5 separate regions of the Homo sapiens genome follow, and regions 2, 3, 4 and 5 are each linked to region 1. The links are contacts of gene promoters, found by promoter capture Hi-C in human tissues and cell types (Jung and others, 2019). All regions are on one chromosome and are shown on one strand. The core of a region is centred on a gene start or on the middle of the fragment in contact, and the rest is flanking DNA. Distances in the headings are between cores, read along the strand shown.

Region 1 (3,881 bases), core at 879-3,378:
GGCAAACCTTACCCTCTGACAATAACACATATTCCTCCAAGAAATTCCTAATACAAGCCCCAAGACGGACACCACTTAAGATTCCCTGTTGTCATCCACTCTTCTGCTCCTAGCACTGTGCCCTGCATGTTCCTGGTCATGGAGAACACGATTCTGCACAATTCTCCGTGCTCACACACTCATACACACGCAGTTTCTCCCGAGCACACGAGAATACACACAGCCTTGTTCCCAGCACACAGTTCCGCACTGATACAGAAAAACACTATCCCGGCAGACGGAACCACACACAACTGACAACTTCTCGTTAGGGACACAAGCGTACCCCTACACACACGCACGCACATACACCCCGCTCACCCCGGCACAGGCCCCGGCGCGCTTACCGGGCAGATGCAGGCCGCGGGCGCCGGGAAGCGGGCCGGGGCTGCGCGGGCTGCCGGCCGCGGCGCGCTCGAGCAGGAGGCCGTGGTCGGCGCGGCAGAGCAGCTCGTGCTCCCGCAGCGAGAACTCGTCCCCAGGCAGCAGCTGGCGGCTGCACACGGAGCAGCGGAAGCACTCGATGTGGTACACGCTGTCCCGCGCCCTCATCACCAGGTCGCTGCTGCTGAAGCCCACCTGGCACTTGGCGCACTTGATGCCGAACAGCCTGCGGGCCCAAGGTGCGGCGGTGTCAGCGCTGGGCCTGCGGCCGCCCTCATCTCCCTGGCTGCTACGGCTCCGGCGCGCGCCCAGGACACTTTGTGGCCACCAGGAGACTGCGGTGACCCGCCTGCGGGCATTCCCGGGCCCGGGGGAGCGCTGCGGCACCCGTGCGGGATGCGGATGGCCTTCTCCCTGGGCAGGGCCGGGGCGCGCGGGCAGGCCGCCATCCCCAGTCCCGGCCCCGGCCCCTGCGCGCGGTGGCCCAGCCCGCGTTCCCGCCGGCCTCACCTGACATAGTCCCGCTTGCAGTAGGTCTTCCCGTCTCTCACGAAGCACGTGCACGTCTCGTCCAGGTACTGGCTGCACTCGGCACACTTGAGGCAGGCCGCGTGCCACTCGAGGTCGGGCGACACCCGCAGGATAAACTGGTCGTGGATCTGACTCCCGCAGCCCACGCACATGGCCGTCCCGGGCTTCTCTGCCGGGGAAGGGCGCGGGGCCGCGTCAGGCCTGACTGCCCGGACCCAGGCCGGCCTCGGCTACTCCAGCCCCAACCCAACCCGCTCGCTCTCTTGCTCTTTCTTTCAAGACTTGCGACCATAAGGAAAGATGATGAGCTCTCTAAAGGTCCAGGGCATTGGAAACGAAAAACCAGTATCTTGTGGATTGCTGAAGGTTTCTTCTGTCCCCCACCCCAAATATTTCGTTATTACATTCATTAATGACAGTCGTTTTGTCGACGTGTCTTGAAACTAAACGCAAACACGAAACTAAGAAGAGAGTAAATACACAGGCACTGCGGACGCCTGGATATCAACACCTAACGGTGCTGTCCTGGCATTTCCGCTCACACACTCCCACTCACAGCGGCTGCCTCCTATCCCAACACAGACACATCGTCTTTCGGCAGTCCCCGCTCATCCTCTCAGACATTTCTTAGTTTAAATATCCCAGAGCAAGCGAAAGAAAGCTTCCTAGCTTTGAAAAACCGAAAGGCAAACAAACAACAACCAAAAAAAAAAAAACCCACATCCCTAAATCAAACCTAATTGCCTTTGCGCAAAACAGAAGCAGATTTCGCAGCCCGAAGTCATCCTAGCCGGCTTGAGAAATAGTGTTTACTTATAAAATAAAACAACAGGATTCCCAAAGATAAGCAGTCCTGCAGGAGACATGCATTCGTTTTTCCTCTCCTAAACTATTCTGACAAATAGAAGCCACTTGTAGAATCCACTAAACATTTTTCTGCATTAGAAATTTTGCATATTAAGCATACACACACACCCCACCCCACACACACACAGAAATACTTACTCTTGGAATGATCACCCATAGCACCCAGAAAAGGATAATGAAAAATAATATCCACCATGCAGAAAAAGAGATGTGCGCAAAGTGTGCGGCCAGGGGCAGAAGGACGAGGGTCGCGCGCCCGGCCTCGGCTCTTTGCTAACTAACTCCTACTGCCCCGCGGAGTTGAAGGAGCGATTCCGCACCGGCCCGCACGCAGCATGACGTCAACACGCACTAGCCCCGGGCCGGAGCTGGGGGCGGGACCTGTGGCGTCACGAAGCTTCCCCAGAACTGCCGGGGATGCGGGGGAGGTGATGGGGATCCAGGGGCTGATGGGCGGGGTGGGTTGGGTTGGAGGCTGGGGGTGAAGGGAGATTGGCTGGGAGGAAGTGGGCCAACCCTGATTGGCCCGGAGTGAACAATGGAGTGCAGCCCCCCCACCTCCGAAACCTACAAGGATCCTCTCTCATGCCCCGGGCCTGGCAATCTGGACTGGACCTTGCGTCACCGCCGAGCTGGCTCCGCGGCCGTTACAACTCTGAGCTTCCTCTTGGACTTTCGGGGCGGTTTTCCCAGGCGCGCTGGAGCTGGGTGATGGATACCTGAGGGTGGAGATGGCTCTCCTTTAAGAGCTCCCTTCTTATATAAATTAAAAAAAAAAAAATTAAACCCACTCTCAGGACGAGAGAGCCGAGGACAAGGGGGATCCGTTTGGACGTGACCGTCATCGTCCAGCTGGTCACCTTTCTCCTCTCATGTGCCTTTGTTCTTCGGGTCCAAGCTAGAGAGAGTGTAGAGAATGACCACCTGGGTTCTGATAAACTCTATTTAGACTTTCCTATCCACACACACGTAGAAAACTTTAGATTGGGGCATTACGTGGGTTGAGCCAGAACCCAGATCCAAAAGCGCTCACCCGGGACTGGGACGGGTCCTGACTCCATCCTTGCTGCTGCTGCCGCTGCTGCTGCCCCTCCTCCCTCTCCTCCACCACCACCTCCTCCTCCTGCTCCACTTCCTTTTTTTTGTTGTTTTGTTTTGCTTTTAATTTGTTGCTGTTGTTGTTTTAAATGTAACATGGACTTCCCCGCCCCCTCATTTTTCCCCCATCCAAATGGCATAGCTCCTTTTAGGAACACTGCTGGGGTCGATTGCGTGTCCAACTTCCAAAATAAAAGATTTTTCTAAACTCTTGTCCTTCATTAACAAACCCACTGCAATGCAAATAATCAGAAACGAACGTAAGGCGCTGGGTAATTTACAGTGGTATCTGCGAGGCGGCGGCTCGTTGGTCCTGAGAAAATCTGAGAGCTCTGAGCACAGTCCAGGCATTCTTTCAAAGAAATCGCTGTGGGTTTTGTTTGAAAGGGTTCAAAGACCGGCCCATGAATTATAAATAACATTTATCCAACCATGGTGTCTGTTCTTGTTTTCCCATTAAAAGGAGTACCAAGAACTTGGTGTGCGCCTGGGTGGGGCGCGAGGTGAAACGCCTGCGGATAAAGTGTCTCCACCGCCATTCCAGACCCTGCCCAGACCTTCGGGCTTGTGGGCCTGAGGGCGCGGTCGCTACTGCCGTTCTACTAAGAGCATGAGGTTGGTTGGCGTCGAAACGGATGCAGCCGAGGGCGCAGGCCGAGGCTTTGCAGAAGGCTAGGGCGAGGCCCCGAGTGCACGCTAACATTATTCGACCATGGTCCACGGTGAACGTTCCTCACCGGCCCCGCGCTGGGGCGAGCGCTTTAAGCCTCGTCCAGTAGCGTCCGGCTTTTGAGCTCCGCCTCCACCTTTAGGAGGTCTAGTCTTCTCACCGGTCCGGCTTTTTTTTTTTTTTTTTTTTTTTTTTTTTTGAGATAGACTCTTGCTGTGCCGCCCAGGCTGGAGTGTAATGGTGCGATCTCGGCTCACTGCAACCTCCGCCTCCCGGGTTCAAGCGATTCTCC
Region 2 (3,881 bases), core at 652-3,151, 670 kb before region 1:
TCAACAATAAAAAGACAACCAATTCAAAAGTGGGCAAAGGTCTTAAATAGACTTTCTCCAAAGAAGGTACACAAATGGCCAATAAACACATGAAAAGATGCTCAACATCATTAATTATTAGAGAAATGCAAATCAAAACTACGATGAGATATTACTTCATGCCTCCTAAGGTGGCTATGATTTAAAAAAAAAACAGAAATTAACAAGAGTTGGCAAAGATATGGAGCAATTGGATCCCTTTTGCATTGCTGATGGGAATGTAAAACTGTTTGGCGGTTACTCAAAAAGTTAAACATAGGATTACCATATGATCCAGCAATTCCACTCCTAGGTATAATCTAAAAGAATTGAAAGCAGGGTTTCAAACAGGTACTTGTACACCAATGTTCATGGCAGCATTATTCACAGTAGCTCAAAGAAACAGCCCAGTGGTCATCAATGGATCAATGGATATACAAAATAAAGTATATACGTAGAATGGAATAGTATTTTGTCATAAAGAGGAAGAAAATTCTGACATATGCTATGACATGGATGAGCCTTGAAGACATTATGCTAACTGAAATAAGCCAGACACAAAAGGACAAATATTATCTGATTCTACTTACAGGAGATGCCTAGAATAGGCAAATCCATAGAGCTAGAAAGTAGAATCGAGGTAGAACAAGGTATGCGGTGAAGGGGTGGGGAGTTATTGTTTGATGGGTACAATTTCTGTTCAGGATGATGAAGCAGTTCAGGAAATAGTGAATGTTCTTAATGCCTCTGAATCATATACTTAAAAATTGTTAAAATGGTCAATTTTATGTTACATATAATTACCACCACCCCCAAAACTTCTAACCTCTGCTCACTCAGGTGAGTCAAATGAGGTCAGGAAAATGGTAAAAACCAGATGTATGCCTATTGTCAGCAATGGTAATTTTTGTTTTGTTTTGTTTTGATATTGAGTGTTTGCTCTTGTTGCCCAGGCTGGAGTGCAGTGGCACAATCTTGGCTCACTGCAACCTCTGCCTCCCAGGTTCAAGCAATTCTCCTGCCTCTGCCTCTCAAGTAGCTGGGATTACAGGCATGCACCACCATACCTGGCTACATTTTTTGTATTTTTAGTAGAGACAGGGTTTCACCATGTTGGCCAGGCTGGTCTTGAACTCCCGACCTCAGGTGATCTGCCCACCTTGGCCTCCCAAACTGCTGGGATTATAGGCATGAGCCACCATGCTTGGCCAGCAATGGTAATTAATTACCACAATTATCTATGTTGATGCCTCTCAAGCTAAAGTTCCACATGGAGGCACTGGGGAACTTTGAAAAATACTGATGTCCAGGTCCTACCCTCAGAAATCGGGGTGTAATTGACCTGGGGTGTGGCCTGGGCATTGGGATTTTTTAGAATGACAGTCCTACAAGATCTGGCTCTCTGCTTCTCTTTTCTTTCTTTGTTTTTTTTGTTTGTTTGTTTGTTTGTTTTGAGACAGTCTTGCTCTGTTGCCCAGGCTGGAGTGCAGTGGTGCGATCATACAGTCACTACAGTTTCCAACTCCTGGGCTCAAGTGACCCTTCCACTCCAGCTTCCCAAGTAGCTGAGACTACAGGTGTGCACCACCAGGTACAGCTAATTTTTGTACTTTTTTTTTTTTTTAAGAAGTGGTTTCACCATGTTGCCCAGACTGGTCTTGAACTCCTGGGTTCAAGTGATCTTCCCACCTCAGCCTCCCAAAGTGCTGGGATTACAGGTGTGAGCCACCACGCCTGGCCACTGTTCTATTTCTTACCTTATCTCCAACTACTCTCCACCTTGGTCACTCTCTCTAGCCACGCAGGCATGCTCTTGCCTCAGCCCATCACCCCCTGACTTCCTCCCCAGTGTGGCTGTTTCCCGTTCCTGTTTCCACAGCTGGGAAGCCCTGAGTTCCATCTGGCCACCACATCCCCACACTGGCTGCTGGTCTCCAGGGCTCCAGCTGGCACTTCCTGTTGCCCAATGGTGGGTGGCCTGTCAACACCAGTGGAAGGAGCTGTCGCTCTCCTGCCTGTTCCATCACCCATTGCTCAGTGTGCCAGGCCTCAGCAAACCAACACACCCTCCCATTAACTGCAAAGGGCTCTCTGACCCAGACCTGGGAAGGTGGCATCCAGGCCCAGCCCAGTCCGATCCATCTGTGTGGCATCCCCCAGGCCCACATTCCTTCCAAGAGGCTCAGTTTCCTCTCTGTAAAACAGGAATAAGAATACTGACCTCACAGGACTATTGTTGGAATTAAGTGAGATAACATAGATCATCTTGTTACTTGAAACCAAAGGAATGATTCTCTAATGGTGGAGTATAACATGCAATGGTGAACATGATTGGAGGAGGCATTCTGAAACAGCAAGATCTATGTATAAGGCTCACCCTATGGGTGCATATCCAATTATAAATCTGGGTCCCCTGGGAACTGTTCCTGGTCTGCTACTCCACTGTGGTGAGCAGGAGGTGGTCCCTTAGCACTGCCCTGAGCCGCCCCAACCTCAAAGCCCTTATCTTAAGTGATGACGACCCTGACATCCTGCAGATGAGGAAACTGAGGTTCAGAAAGGGAAAATGATTCTCCAAGGCCACCTAGCAAGTGTGGGTGAGGGTTGGGTGAGGCTTCAAAGAAGCCCGCTTCCTTCTTCTTCTTTTTTTTTTTTTGAGACGGAGTTTCGTTCTTTTGCCCAGGCTGGAGTGCAATTGTGAAACCTCAGCTCACTGCAACCTCCACCTCCTGGGTTCAAGCGATTCTCCTGCCTCAGCCTCCTGAGTAGCTGGGATTACAGGCATGCGCCACCATGCCCCGCTAATTTTTTTGTAGTTTTAGTAGAGACAGGGTTTCACCATGGTGGCCAGGCTGGTCTCGAACCCCTGACCTCAGATGATCCACCCGCCTCGGCCTCCCAAGAAGCCGATTTCCTTCTAAGCCTGGAGGATGGAGCATGACTGAGTCTGTGAGGGAGGAACCTTCCAGAGCCAACCCAGAGGAGAGTCCTGGTGTGGGCAGCCCAGGGCCCAGGGCATCATGCTCTCTAGCTGGAAGCAGAGGCAGTCTTGGTTTCCACCCAAAGTTCCCTCCATCATGTGGTTTGCAGCGTCAGCCAGGCTCTGGGTGAGGAGGAAGGGCATCCCACTCACAGCCCGCAGCCTCTGTCCTCTTTTGCATGAGAGGAAACAGCCACCACCAGAGAGGGTGCAGAGAGGCAGAAGAAAGTATCTCTGCCACCACTTAGGGCAGAGACCTTTCACAATCCAGCTCGTGCCTTCCCTTCCTACCAGTCACCTTGCACAATGCTCTGGGCCAGAAAACTGTCTTCCAAACCCCCTTCCACACCTTTGCCCATGCCGTACCTCCCACCTTGAGTGCCGTTTGTCCTCCTGACATGTCTCAAATCCTCACCCACCCTTCAAAGCCCAAAGCAAGGCCCTCCTTCTCCATCCCAGGGGCTGCCCTAGTTCTGTGTAGATGTCAGGAGCAGCCAGGAAAAGCATGTGGGTTCCAGGGGACTGGAGCACAAAGTGGGTCATCAAGAAGCAGATCTTGTTTTTTATCAAGAATAAAATTGAATTCAGAACACCAAATCGACCCAGAACCCTGCAGCCAGCAAATCCTGGCAGTGACCATCTGCAGGCATCGCAAAAGCAAAGCAAGCATGACCACAAACCTCTGCAATCTTCTAACACCTGAGCAGCCGGCCACGTCCTGTGGAATGGGCACAGATGAACGAAGTTCTTGGTCCCCAGAGGCCCACGTACCACAAAATATGCACCGAGCATGTGGAAAAGGGCATGCTAGCAAACCACAAATTTGGCCTAGAAACACCAACTCATTCTTGAAAGCAGGAATTGCTTAGTTTTCTTTTTAAAT
Region 3 (3,881 bases), core at 830-3,329, 630 kb before region 1:
CACTGTGTTATTGCCTCTGGTGTTAATAAAATGAACACATGACTCTCTGGCACCTGTATGGAAAAGACTTAAAATACTTATTTTTAGGATATGAGGTGAACATGTTTTTGTCCAAAATCTGGACATTAACTTCATAGGCAAAGACGATTACATAACATCTCTCTTATGTTAAGGACTTTTTAATCTGGAACTTCTGCATAGTCACATAGCTGGAAGGAATTTCGGTGGTATTTTCAATAATTCAGTACTATTTTTTAAATGTGCTTGAAAATTCTATAAATTGACTTAGGAATACTATACTTAACTGGGAATGTAAGTATACATACTATATTTTTACATATGTATATCCACGATATATTTTGCTCCCCAAATTATTTTTCATCTTCACATTGCATTGGCCCTGAGTTTGAAATAACAAGCTTATTCTAAGCAGAGAGGAAACTGGTGAAGGAAGATGATTTTGAAGAGAGTTTTGAGAAGTATTTATGTTTCTTCTCCCTTTAAAACTCTTGAAAATAATCATAGCCACAATATCCCACTTAAAAACAATTGACAATAATTTTAATATAATCAAATATTCAGCCAGTGTTCAAATTTCTAATTGTGTTTCATATGTCACCAAAAAATTATTTTATTCTGTTCAGATTGTTTGAATCTTGATCTAAATAAGTTTTGCAGGTTGTGATTCTTTTAACTATCAGTTTCCTTTACATGTCTGTCTGTTTTTCTTTACAGCCTATTTGTTTAAGAAACTAGATAATAAGGCCCAGTGCAGTGGCTCACACCTGTAATCCCAGAAATTGGTAGGCCGAGGAGGGTGGATCACTTGAGCCCAGGAGTTTGAGACCAGCATGGGCAACATAGCAAAACCCTGTCTCTGCCAAAAAACAAAACCAAAAATTAGCCAGGTATGGTGGTGTGCACCTGTAGTCCCAGCTCCTCAGGGGGGCTGAGGCAGGAGGATCACTTGAGTCTGGGAGATTGAGGCTGCAGTGAGCTGTGATCATGCTGCTGCACTCCAGCATGGGTGACAGACGAGACCCTGTCTCAAAAACAAAGAAAAGAAAAGAGAAAGAAAGAAACTAGATCATTTATCCTGTAGAGCTTCCCACAGTATAGAATGACTGATTGCATATCCATTGTGTCCTTTAATATTTTCTTCTATCTCCTGTATTTCCTGTAAATTGCCATTTGAATCTAGATTCAGGTCCAATTTTTTGGCAAGAATACTTCATAGGAGGCCTATGAGGTCTGGTTATCTCAATTTGTGATATTAGCAGACATTGCTGATCAGTGCCACTATCCATTAATTAGGGATTGCCACATGGCAATATTCTAATTCTACCATTTCTTCTTGATTTACGAGCTGAATTACTTCTATAAAGAGAAACGTCTCCTTATCTACTATTTGGTTACCCAGTAGTAGTTTGTACAGTATAGGCGGGATAAATGCTCAATTATTTCTCTTTATCAGTTTATGAACCACCGAATACTCCAAAGGTGACCAATTAGATATGTTTTAGTATCATTATGAACTCATGGAGTTAAACATATTTGATGTGCTTCAATCCATTGCAATTTTTGCCTTTATTGATGCAAAAATGGTCCCATCTTTGGCCAGAGGGGGCCTCTTCAAGTTGACTCCTGAGTCCTTTGGACACCACCCTAGCTGTCTTAGAGAACTTTCTTGCCATCTGATATGGCCAATGTTCCAGTCACCTGTTGTCCATTTCCTGTCTCAGACCTGGAATCAATCACTTTTTCAGGGAACACTAGTTCTTTTACTGGGTATATTTCAAGAAGATAATCTAGGTACTGGGGTGCTCATAGCTACTGAAATGCTTATTGTTCTTAGGTCTTTTCTGAGGTCAGAACTAGGAAATACATTTTTTCTCAATATAAATATAAGGCACATCATAAGTTCATATTGATACTTTCAATTAAATTTAGGTCTACAGGGTGTTTGCACAACCTCTTCCTTCTTCCATCTGTACCTCCTTTCTCCCATGTCCAGAATCTCATTTCTCAAAAACACCAGGAATTCCAGAATTAGAATTTCACATAATTTCTCATTTGCTTCATTCCACACTGCACACAACAGTCTCAGAACACCAATACCAAGTCTCCCATCAGCCAAGTGACTGCTGAAAACAATTTAAGATTTTCGTTTGTGTATTTGCAGTTCTTTTTGTCTTCAGGCTATATCCTTTTGGGGTTGTACAGTCAAATTACTGTGTTTAGAACAGTTCATCTGTGTGCTGACTCCACCAACCAGATGCACATTATGTTTATTTGCTTCTTTTTGGGGGGATTCATTTTTATGTAATTTTTTTACTTTTATGAAATATTTACTCAGTTCCAAAGTCACATGTACAAAACAAGCTATCTTCAAATAAGTCCAGCTTCCATCTCTATCTCTTCCGTTCTGCTCCCTCTCTCCTCCTACAGGTAGCCACTTTTCATTGCTTTATCCTTCCATTGCTTGTGTGCTTTTAAATATAAGCAGATACATTTACATGTTTATATATTTGCATCCCTGCCTTCCTTAGAGAACTGTGAGACACACATTCCTTTTCTTAATGATATATTCTATATGGAAACAGTCTTCACTTCTTTCTCCAGCTACCTAGTACTTCTTGGCATGGCTGTACCATAGTTCATTCAGCCAGCCTATTGACAGACATTTGGGCTGTTTCTCATTACAAATAGTCCTGCAACTAATTGCCTTTTTTGATTATGTTTTGTTTTGAGACAGAGTCTTGCTCTGTCGCCTAGGCTGGAGTGCAGTGGCTTGATCTGGGCTCACTGCAACCTCTGTCTCCTGGGTTCAAGTGATTCTCCTGCCTCAGCCTTGTGAATAGCTGGGACTACAGGCACGCGCCACCATACCCGGCTAATTTTTGTATTTTTTTAGTACAGACAGGGTTTCACCATGTTGGCCAGGCTAGTCTCCAATTCCTGGCCTCAAGTCATCCACCCACCTCAGTCTCCCAAAGCGCTGGGATTACAGATGTGAGCCACCACGGCAGGCTTGCCTTTTGTATTTTGATCTGAGTTCATTTTAGATGCAAATCCTGTACATCCTTATTTCACAGAGTTTTTCTATATTACCAATGTGGTCAAGACTCTCCCCTGCTTAAAACCCATCAACAGTTTTTGATCATTCATAGGATAAAGTCCAAATTCAGCTTGACAGACAGCACCCACCAGACCTGCCTGGCCCCTCATATTGGTCTATCTTCTTGTCAGAGGCATTCGAACCAGAGCGACTCCATTTTGAGTAAGGGCTAGGAAAATGGGGCTGGGAATTGCTGGGCTGCATTCTCAGAAAGTCAGGCATTCCTGGCCTCTAGATATTTACAGTTAAGGGAAAAAATTAATAATGTTTACTAAACAGACCCAGACGGGAATGTCCAGATATCCTGATATCTGGAGAACACAGGCATTCCTAATTTTGCTTTAAAGATAATAATATCAATTCTTGCAAAATATCATAATTAAGAAAATTAATCCTTTATCACAAACCCTTGTAGCAGAGCACATCTCTCCATATATACAAGCATTGTACCCAGGGTGGACGCCTTCCTCCTCTTACTTTCGGGAACGTCCTGCTCTGTCTATGGAGTAGCCGTCCTTTCACCACTTTACCTTCTTAATAAACTTGCTTTTACATTGCACTGCGGACTTACCCTGAATTATTTCTTGTGCAAGATCCAAGAACCCTCTCTTGGGGTCTGGATCAGGATGCCTTTCCTATAACATTCTGGCCCTCTCTACCCAGCACCTCTCATGCCCCTCTCTACCAAGGAGGAAGCCCACACTTCCCTGACTCTGGGCTGCCCACACATGCTCTACTCTCTGCTTAGAAGGCTTGGTATCCT
Region 4 (3,881 bases), core at 706-3,205, 610 kb before region 1:
GCTGGGACTACAGGCGTATGCCACCACACCCAGCTAACTTTTATATTTTTAGTAGAGACAGTGTTTTGCCATGTTGGCAAGGCTGATCTCAAACTCCTAACCTCGGATGATCTGCCAGCCTCAGCCTCCCAAAGTGCTGGGATTACAGGCGTAAGCCACTCCGCCTAGCCCTCCCCCTTCTTTTTTTTTTTAACATAGGATCTCATTCTGTCACCCAGGCTAGAGAGCAGTGGCACAATAATAGTGGCATCATAGGCTCCAACTACTGGACTCAAGTGATCCTCTCACCTCAGTCTCCCAAGTAGCTAGGACCACAGGTGCATGCCACCACACCTGGCTAACTTTTTTGTAGAGACAAGGTCTGCTATGTTGTCCAGGCTGGTCTTGAACTCCTAGCCTCAAGCTGTCCTCCTGCCTTGGCCTCCCAAAGTGCTGGGATTACAGGTGTGAGCCACCATGCCTGGCCCATCTCTGACTCTTGCCTTCCCTTAACACTTATTTAGTAAGTCAACATTCCTGCATATGCTTTCTTCAAAATGTTGCTCAAATCTATTTCATTCAATTGCCAGATAGAACTCTGGGCCGTATCACATTATGCCTAAATTATTTCATTGCTTTTACTGGTAATTCCCCTCTTTAGTCTTCAATTGTTCCTTATTCTCCAGAGAATCAAGATCTAGCATCCTTTGCCTGTCATTCTTGGGCTCAATTAGCTTTTCCCAACTTAATTTTGGTACTTAAATTACACCCAGCACTGTTCTTAAACTGGGTCATGTATTCTGTGCCAATGAGAAATTAGAAGCTTCACAATGGCAAGAGAAGTGGTATTAATGACAGTGTCTTACCACTGAGCTATGGAGAAAAATGTATCTGCAGCCTTGTTATGCAAGGCAGCAGGGTCTACCATGACACATTAAACAAAAAGATATATCTTCCTTCTTTGAAATATCCAGGGAACCAAGCCACGTAGCTGGAGGCTGATGTCATGCAACAGACTTCAATATAAATGTTTAGTCTCTTTTTTAAAAAGCTATTTGTTACATTAGTCTTTATTTCCCAGTGTGATGGTTTATGCTTTCAAGCTTGGCCAAGTCATAATAGGGACTCAATTTATGTTTGTTGAGTTAAACTTACAATTCAACAAAAGTTTTGAAAAACTGGTACTTATTTTAAATATTAAAGGGATGAGAGGACTCATTATACTTAAAATTGCAAAAACATTACTAGTTAACTAGCAGCTGCACCCCTACCAACCCTATGAAGAATCCAAACATGATGTTTTTCCAGACCAAAAGCTTTCATAAGTGATGTTGTAAATTAAACAGAAATCCTAATATTACTAACATTGAAAAACCAAAAAAAATCTGAAAGCTACAAAAGGATAAGGAAGGCACTGAAGGTAACACAGTTATGAGAGAAAATAGCCTGAGGAAGCCTGCTGTTCATACATAGTACAGAGATTTAAAAATTCAGTCTTTCACCTTCTCCCTCCCAATAAGCAACTTCGTCACCACAAGAAAGCCTCCTTACCAAGCCTAATTTTAAGTGGGGAGAATGAGCATCATTTTAAATCTGTGTATCTCTTAAAATTCTGGTTATACAATTCATTTTAACAACTTAATGAACAGGTTTTAAAGTTTTGGTTACTTGGAAATGTAAATTCATACAACCACTATGGAGAACAGTTTGGAGGTTCCTCAAAAAACTAAAAATAGAGCTACCATATGATCCAGCAATCCCACTGCTGGGTATATACCCAAAAGAAAGGAAACCACTATGTCAAAGAAATATCTGCACTCCCATGTTTGTTGTAGCACTGTTCACAAAAGCCAAGATTTGGAAGCAACCCAAGCGTACATCAACAGATGAATGGATAAAGAAAATGTACATATACACAATGGAGTACTATTCAGTCATAAAAAAGAAAGAGATCCTGCAACAACATGTTGATCCACACAACAGCATGGATGAACTGGAGATCATATTAAGTGAAATAAGTCAGGCACAGAAAGACAAACATCCCATGTTCTCACTCATTTGTGGGATCTAAAAATCAAAACAATTGAACTCATGGACATAGACGGTAGAAGATGGTTACCAGAGACTGGGAAGTGTTGGGGGAGGGGGCGCTGAGAACAGTTAATGAGTACAAAAAAAACAGTAAGAATGAATAAGATCTATTATTTGACAGCATAACAGGGTTGACTATAGTCAGTAGTAACTAATTATACATTTTAAAATAACTAAAAGAGTGTTCACGGGATTGTTAGTAACACAAAGGATAAAAGTTCGAGGGGATGGATACCTCATTGTCTATGATCTGATTATTTCACATTGCATGCCTGTATCAAAACATCTCGGCCGGGCGCGGTGGCTCACGCTTATAATCCCAGCACTTTGGCAAGCCGAGGCGGGCGGATCACGAGGTCAGGAGATTGAGACCACGGTGAAACCCCGTCTCTACTGAAAATACAAAAAATTAGCCAGGTGTAGTGGCGGGCGCCTGTAGTTCCAGCTACTCAGAGAGGCTGAGGCAGGAGAATGGCGTGAACACGGGAGGCGGAGCTTGCAGTAAGCCGAGATCGCCCCACTGCACTCCAGCCTGGGCGACAGAGCGATACTCCGTCTCAAAAAAAAAAAAAAAAAAAAAAAAAAGTCTCATGTATCCCATAAACATATATACCTACTATGTACCCACAAAAATTTTAAATATATTTTTTTAAAGTTTTGGTCACTCAATAATTCTCTTAAAAATGTTTCTTTCTTACCGTCATATAATCAACTTCTTCAGGATGCTCAAAAGCAATAAATTCTTCAAGACTCAAACCGGGACCTGAATCCTGGTTAGCTTTTTCAAATCGCTTCTTGTCCTTTAAGTGAAGCTTTGAAAATTAAAATTTCTCATTAGTATACCACATCATTTTAAATACTTTGAAAAATACAAACTATGTGAAATTTAAAGTACATTCCCATCCGTTATCTCATTTATCTTCACATCGTCCCTTTGAAGGTAAGCTACACAAATACATGTATTAGGGGCAGGATAGACTCACAAGCTCTAGAGTCATATAGACCCAGACCTGAATTCCAGCAATGCCACTTACTAGCTGTGGTGTCAGCGCAAACTGCTTAACCTCTCTGGTTTCCTCATCTATCAAACTGGGATAAAAATCTCTAATAAGCAATTGGGATGAGAATCCCTACCACACCATTAATAAACCTTAAGTATTTAGTGTTATATACTATTATTGATAGAAAAGCAGATTGAATGATTTGATAAAAGTCAGAAATACAGCTAAAAAATACTGAGCATGGCATAGTGGCGCACGCCTGTAGTTCCAGCAACTTGGGAAGACTGCATGAGCCCAGAAGTTCAAGGCCAGCCTTCACACCATAGCAAGACCCTGACTCAAAAAACAAACAAAACTACTGAACTTGGATCCTCCCTATTCTTTCTACAGTACTATACTGTCTACTTTAATAATTAATCTCAATACTTTTTTGAATGCCCAAAAATCAATAACTTTATACCATGTATTAAATCTTGGTAGGGCTTTTAAAAAATGTTTCTGGTCCTCTAAGTGACTTTTCAAAAATACATTATTGTTTCAGAAAAACAGTCTTCTTATGTTGAGAATCTCATAATATTAGTATATGTACCTAATATTTGGAAATCTTTTCTTTTTTGGGGGGTGGGGAGATGAGGTCTCACTCCGTCATCCAGGTTGGAGTACAGTGGTGCAATCTCGGCTTACTGAAACCTCCACCGCCCAGGTTCAAGTGATCCTCCCACCCCAGCCTCCCAAGTAGTGGGGACCACAGGCATGTGCCACCACACCCAGCTAATTTTTTGTATTTTTGATAGAGATGGGGTTTCACTA
Region 5 (3,881 bases), core at 801-3,300, 540 kb before region 1:
TGGCCTGGGGGGACCCTAAGTTTAGTTTGTGAGTCCCTCTCTCTTAATTTGTGTTTACTCAATTAGTTACTGATTCCTTTTGGATTTTGGTATTTTTGATAGGTACAACCTTCTGAAGTGTGGCGCTCAGGGCAGAGCCCCTTCTTCTGGTTGAAAGAGCAGGAGAGGGCCGGGCACGGTGGCTCACGCCTGTAATCCCAGCACTTTGGGAGGCCTAGACGGGCGGATCACAAGGTCAGGAGACCGAGACCATCCTGGCTAACACGGTGAAACCCCGTCTCTGCTAAAAATACAAAAAATTAGCCTGGCGTGGTGGTGGGCGCCTGTAGTCCCAGCTACTCAGGAGGCTGAGGCAGGAGAATGGCATGAACCCGGGAGGCGGAGCTTTCAGTGAGCCAAGATCGTGCCACTGCACTCCAACCTGGGCTATAGAGCGAGACTCCGTCTCAAATAAAAGAAAAAAAGAAAGAGCAGGAGAGCATCTATTTGTTGTATGCTCTTATTTCATCCCTCCCACTTCATACTCTTCCTCAGTTCTAAGGTTTTGATTTTTCATATCTGTCATTTGGGGTTATTTTCTGTTGGTCTGCTTTTGGGTCTTTTGGTCATAAACTATGCTTTTGTTTGCCAGAAGATTTCTTTTTTTTTAATCTGCCCTAATTTTGAAAAATGGTCTTAGAGGGGATAGAAGTCTAGGTTGACAGATTTTTTTTCTCTTAATATCTTTTTTTTTTTCTTCTGGAGACAGAGTCTCTCTGTCACCCAGTCTGGAGTGCAGCGGCACAATCATAGCTCACTGCAGTTTTTATCACCTGGGCTCAAGCAGTCCTCCCACCTCAGCCTCCTAAGTAGCTTGGAACTATAGGTGCATGCCAGTTTTTTATTTTTAATTTTTTTGTAGCGATAGGGTCTTGCTTTGTTGCCCAGGTGATCTTGAACTCCTGACCTCAAGTGATCCTCCTGCTTTGGCCTTCTTCCACAGGGCTGGGATTACAGGCATGAGCTACTATGCCTGGTCTTTCTTAGTATCTTGACAAAAGAGATTCCACTGTCCTCAGCTTCTTTTTGATTTTTAGGGAATTCTTTTTCCTTTGATTTAATTTTAATTTAATAGCATATGCAGCATTTACATGGTTCAAAATTCAAACTATAAAACAGTGTTCATTTAGAGAAATTCAGCTTTCTTCTCTCTTCTTCCTCTTCTTCCCTTGTGGGTAACATTAATTTTTTTAAATTGTGCTAATACAAATAACATGACATTTACCATCTGAACCATTTTTAAGTATACAGTTCAGTGGTATTAAGTACATTCATATTGTTGTGCAGCTATCACTATTATTCATCTTCAGAACTCCTTGTCTTGAAATATTGAAACTCTATACATTAAACAATAATTTCCCATTTCCCTTCACCCCCTGCTCCTGTACCACTTGCTGTCTCTGTGATTTTGACTACTTTATGTACCACATATAAGTGAAATCATCCAGTATTTGTCTTTTTGTGTTTGGCTTATTTCATTTAGCATAATGTCTTCAAGGTTCATCCATGTTGTAGCATATGTCAGATTTCCCTCCTCTTTAAGACTGAATAATATTCTGTTATAAATAAATAATAATAATATATTACGTTTTGCTTATCCATTCATCAGACACTTGGGCTGTTTCCCCTTTTTAGCTATTGTGAATGTTGATGCTATGAACATGGGTGTACAGATATCTCTTCAAGACTGTTTTCAGGCCAGACGCAATGGCTTACGCCTGTAATCCTAGCACTTTGGAAGGCCGAGCCAGTTGGCTCACTTGAGGTCAGGAGTTTGAGACCAGCTTGGCCAACATGGCGAAACCCTGGCTCTACTAAAAATACAAAAAATTAGCTGGCATGGTGATATGCACCTTTAGTCCCAGCTACATGAGAGGCTGAGGCATGAGAATCGCTTGAACCCAGGAGGCGGAGGTTGCAGTGAGCCATGATCATATCACTACACTCTAGCCTTTGTGTCAGAGCAAGACTCTGTCTCCAAAAAGTAAATAAATAAATAAAATAGTAAAGAACTGTTTTCAGTTATTTCGGGTACGTAACCAAAAGTGGAACTTGTAGATAATATGGTAAATCTATTTTTAATGTTTGGAGGAACTGTCATAGTGTTTTCCGCAGTGGCTGCAACATTTAAAATTCCCACCAACAGTGCACAAGGGTTCCAGTTTTTCCACATCCTCACCAACATTTTTTATTTTCTGTTTTTTTGATGGTAGCCATTTTAATGGGTGCATGGGTAATCGTTTTTCTTAATGTTTGATTTATCTTTTATATTTTCAAAATGAATGTATACATTTATATGTATATACATGTGTTTTTCTTTTTTGAACCTAAAGGTAATATATTTTAGTATCTTGGGAGTTTTTTTTTTTTCTTTTCACTTAGCAATATATCCTAGAGTGTTAGAGATCTTCGTTTCTTTTTATAGCTGCATACTATTTCCTATTGATCTCTGTTTTAAAACTCTAGCAGGTAAGATATAGTAAAGTTTTTCTTATCTGCCAATTGTGACTCTAAGGAATATGTCCAAAAACCTGAAAGTAAATGAAAAATGCTTATGATCATACACAACAGATAGTCCACACACTGTAAGTATATTCACTGTACTTGCAGAATTCTTGAGTTCCTTATTCAGAACTGTAATAGTACATTTCCCATAAGCCTACCAAATAAGAATTGACAGCTAATAGCTTGTTAGGGAAGAGGAGAAAATAATTAAGAATTAAGCTTTTGTGTTCTTCTTAATCATCAGGAAGTAAAGAACTAAAAAATCTTTAACAACACTTTTGTCTGTGCCCATTTATTTTAGGACAACTGTCTTTTGTATTTCTATAACTCCTGAGGCATAATTAAATTATAGTATCATATAGAAGTTGGTGTTCATAGTGGTAACCTGAAGTTATCAAGAAAAGAGTAAGTTTCTTTAGTAGCCTCTGTCGCAGAGGTCAAGGAAATGTGTTCAGAGATTTTCATACAAAATAATAAAACCAAAAAGAATTTGTGCTTAGCGGGGCAAACCTAAGTTATCAATTTATGTAGAACACCTCATTTCCCAATAATGTTCATTTATTGATGCTTTTTAAAAATCATTCTGCCAGTTATTCATTTATTCATACATATTTATGTGCCAGACACCATCCTACACAGTGAGAATAGTGAACAAAACCTAGTCCTTCAGAAACTTACTGTCTAATGGAAGACAGAGTAAACACATTAAGTGTATGATTTAAAATATAATTGTGGTTAAGTGTTACAAAGGAGTACAAGTTGGTTTGAGTATATAAAAGGAATCCTGGCCAAGTCTCGGGGTTGAAGAAAACTTAGCCTTAGGACGTTACATTTAAGTTGGGATTCGAAAGATCATTAGGCTTTGGCTGGGCTAAGAGGAATACTCTCTTAGAATGCTTTCAGTAGCAAGTAGAGTTGGCTTCAGATAAGAATTGATCCAGTGGCTCAACAGTGTCATCAAAAATTTGATTGCTTTTCCTCCACTTACTCTGGCTTCTGTTCTGTTGCCATTATTTTAAGGCTTGCTGTCTTTATGATCCCTAGATGCTTAGCAGTAGTTTCCAAAGCTGTATATTCCCTAACATATGGCCAGTAGGAGAGTCTTTTCTCTAACATTCCAGTAAAAGATCTGAGATCCTAAGTTTTGATCACCTTAGGTCACATGCTCACCTCTGGATCAGTTGTTGTGGCTAGGCGAGCAGATTGACTTAGGCAAGGTCATGTGCTGCACCCTGGAGTTAGGGACAAAAGGTGCTTACCTAGAACCACAAGGGACCCCAACAAAAATTGAACTATTAGGAAAGGAGGATGTAGAGAATGAATGCTAGGGAAGAAGC

Evidence for each region. Contacts are between HindIII fragments. The study calls those that stand out against the background at their distance.
Region 2: a contact is called between a fragment that was not itself captured here and the fragment with the promoter of ISL2 in region 1, in 2 of the 25 tissues and cell types used here (lymphoblastoid cells and mesenchymal stem cells).
Region 3: a fragment that was not itself captured here is called in contact with the fragment with the promoter of ISL2 in region 1 in 1 of the 25 tissues and cell types used here (lymphoblastoid cells).
Region 4: a fragment that was not itself captured here is called in contact with the fragment with the promoter of ISL2 in region 1 in 2 of the 25 tissues and cell types used here (dorsolateral prefrontal cortex and lymphoblastoid cells).
Region 5: a fragment that was not itself captured here is called in contact with the fragment with the promoter of ISL2 in region 1 in 2 of the 25 tissues and cell types used here (lymphoblastoid cells and small bowel).

What each region holds. Positions count from the first base shown.
Region 1 is chr15:76,335,020-76,338,900 of GRCh38, reverse strand. ISL2 (ISL LIM homeobox 2) reads right to left here and starts at 2,128. Exons shown (of 6, transcript NM_145805.3): 1 at 1,960-2,128; 2 at 934-1,123; 3 at 387-649. The coding sequence starts at 2,017. RefSeq lists enhancers at 808-1,619, 2,045-2,094, 1,788-2,287, 2,099-2,393. The HindIII fragment of the contact is 8,596 bases long and covers 1-3,881 here.
Region 2 is chr15:77,002,449-77,006,329 of GRCh38, reverse strand. All of the region lies in intron 1 of PSTPIP1 (proline-serine-threonine phosphatase interacting protein 1), which reads right to left. Among named protein-coding and RNA genes, the nearest start is that of PSTPIP1, 9.3 kb to the right of the region's middle. The HindIII fragment of the contact is 4,540 bases long and covers 1-3,881 here.
Region 3 is chr15:76,968,753-76,972,633 of GRCh38, reverse strand. No RefSeq gene overlaps it. Among named protein-coding and RNA genes, the nearest start is that of PSTPIP1, 24 kb to the left of the region's middle. The HindIII fragment of the contact is 4,270 bases long and covers 1-3,881 here.
Region 4 is chr15:76,942,759-76,946,639 of GRCh38, reverse strand. It overlaps RCN2 (reticulocalbin 2), which reads right to left. Exons shown (of 7, transcript NM_002902.3): 4 at 2,769-2,882. Among named protein-coding and RNA genes, the nearest start is that of RCN2, 13 kb to the right of the region's middle. The HindIII fragment of the contact is 3,320 bases long and covers 296-3,615 here.
Region 5 is chr15:76,879,250-76,883,130 of GRCh38, reverse strand. All of the region lies in intron 2 of SCAPER (S-phase cyclin A associated protein in the ER), which reads left to right. Among named protein-coding and RNA genes, the nearest start is that of SCAPER, 24 kb to the left of the region's middle. The HindIII fragment of the contact is 6,155 bases long and covers 1-3,881 here.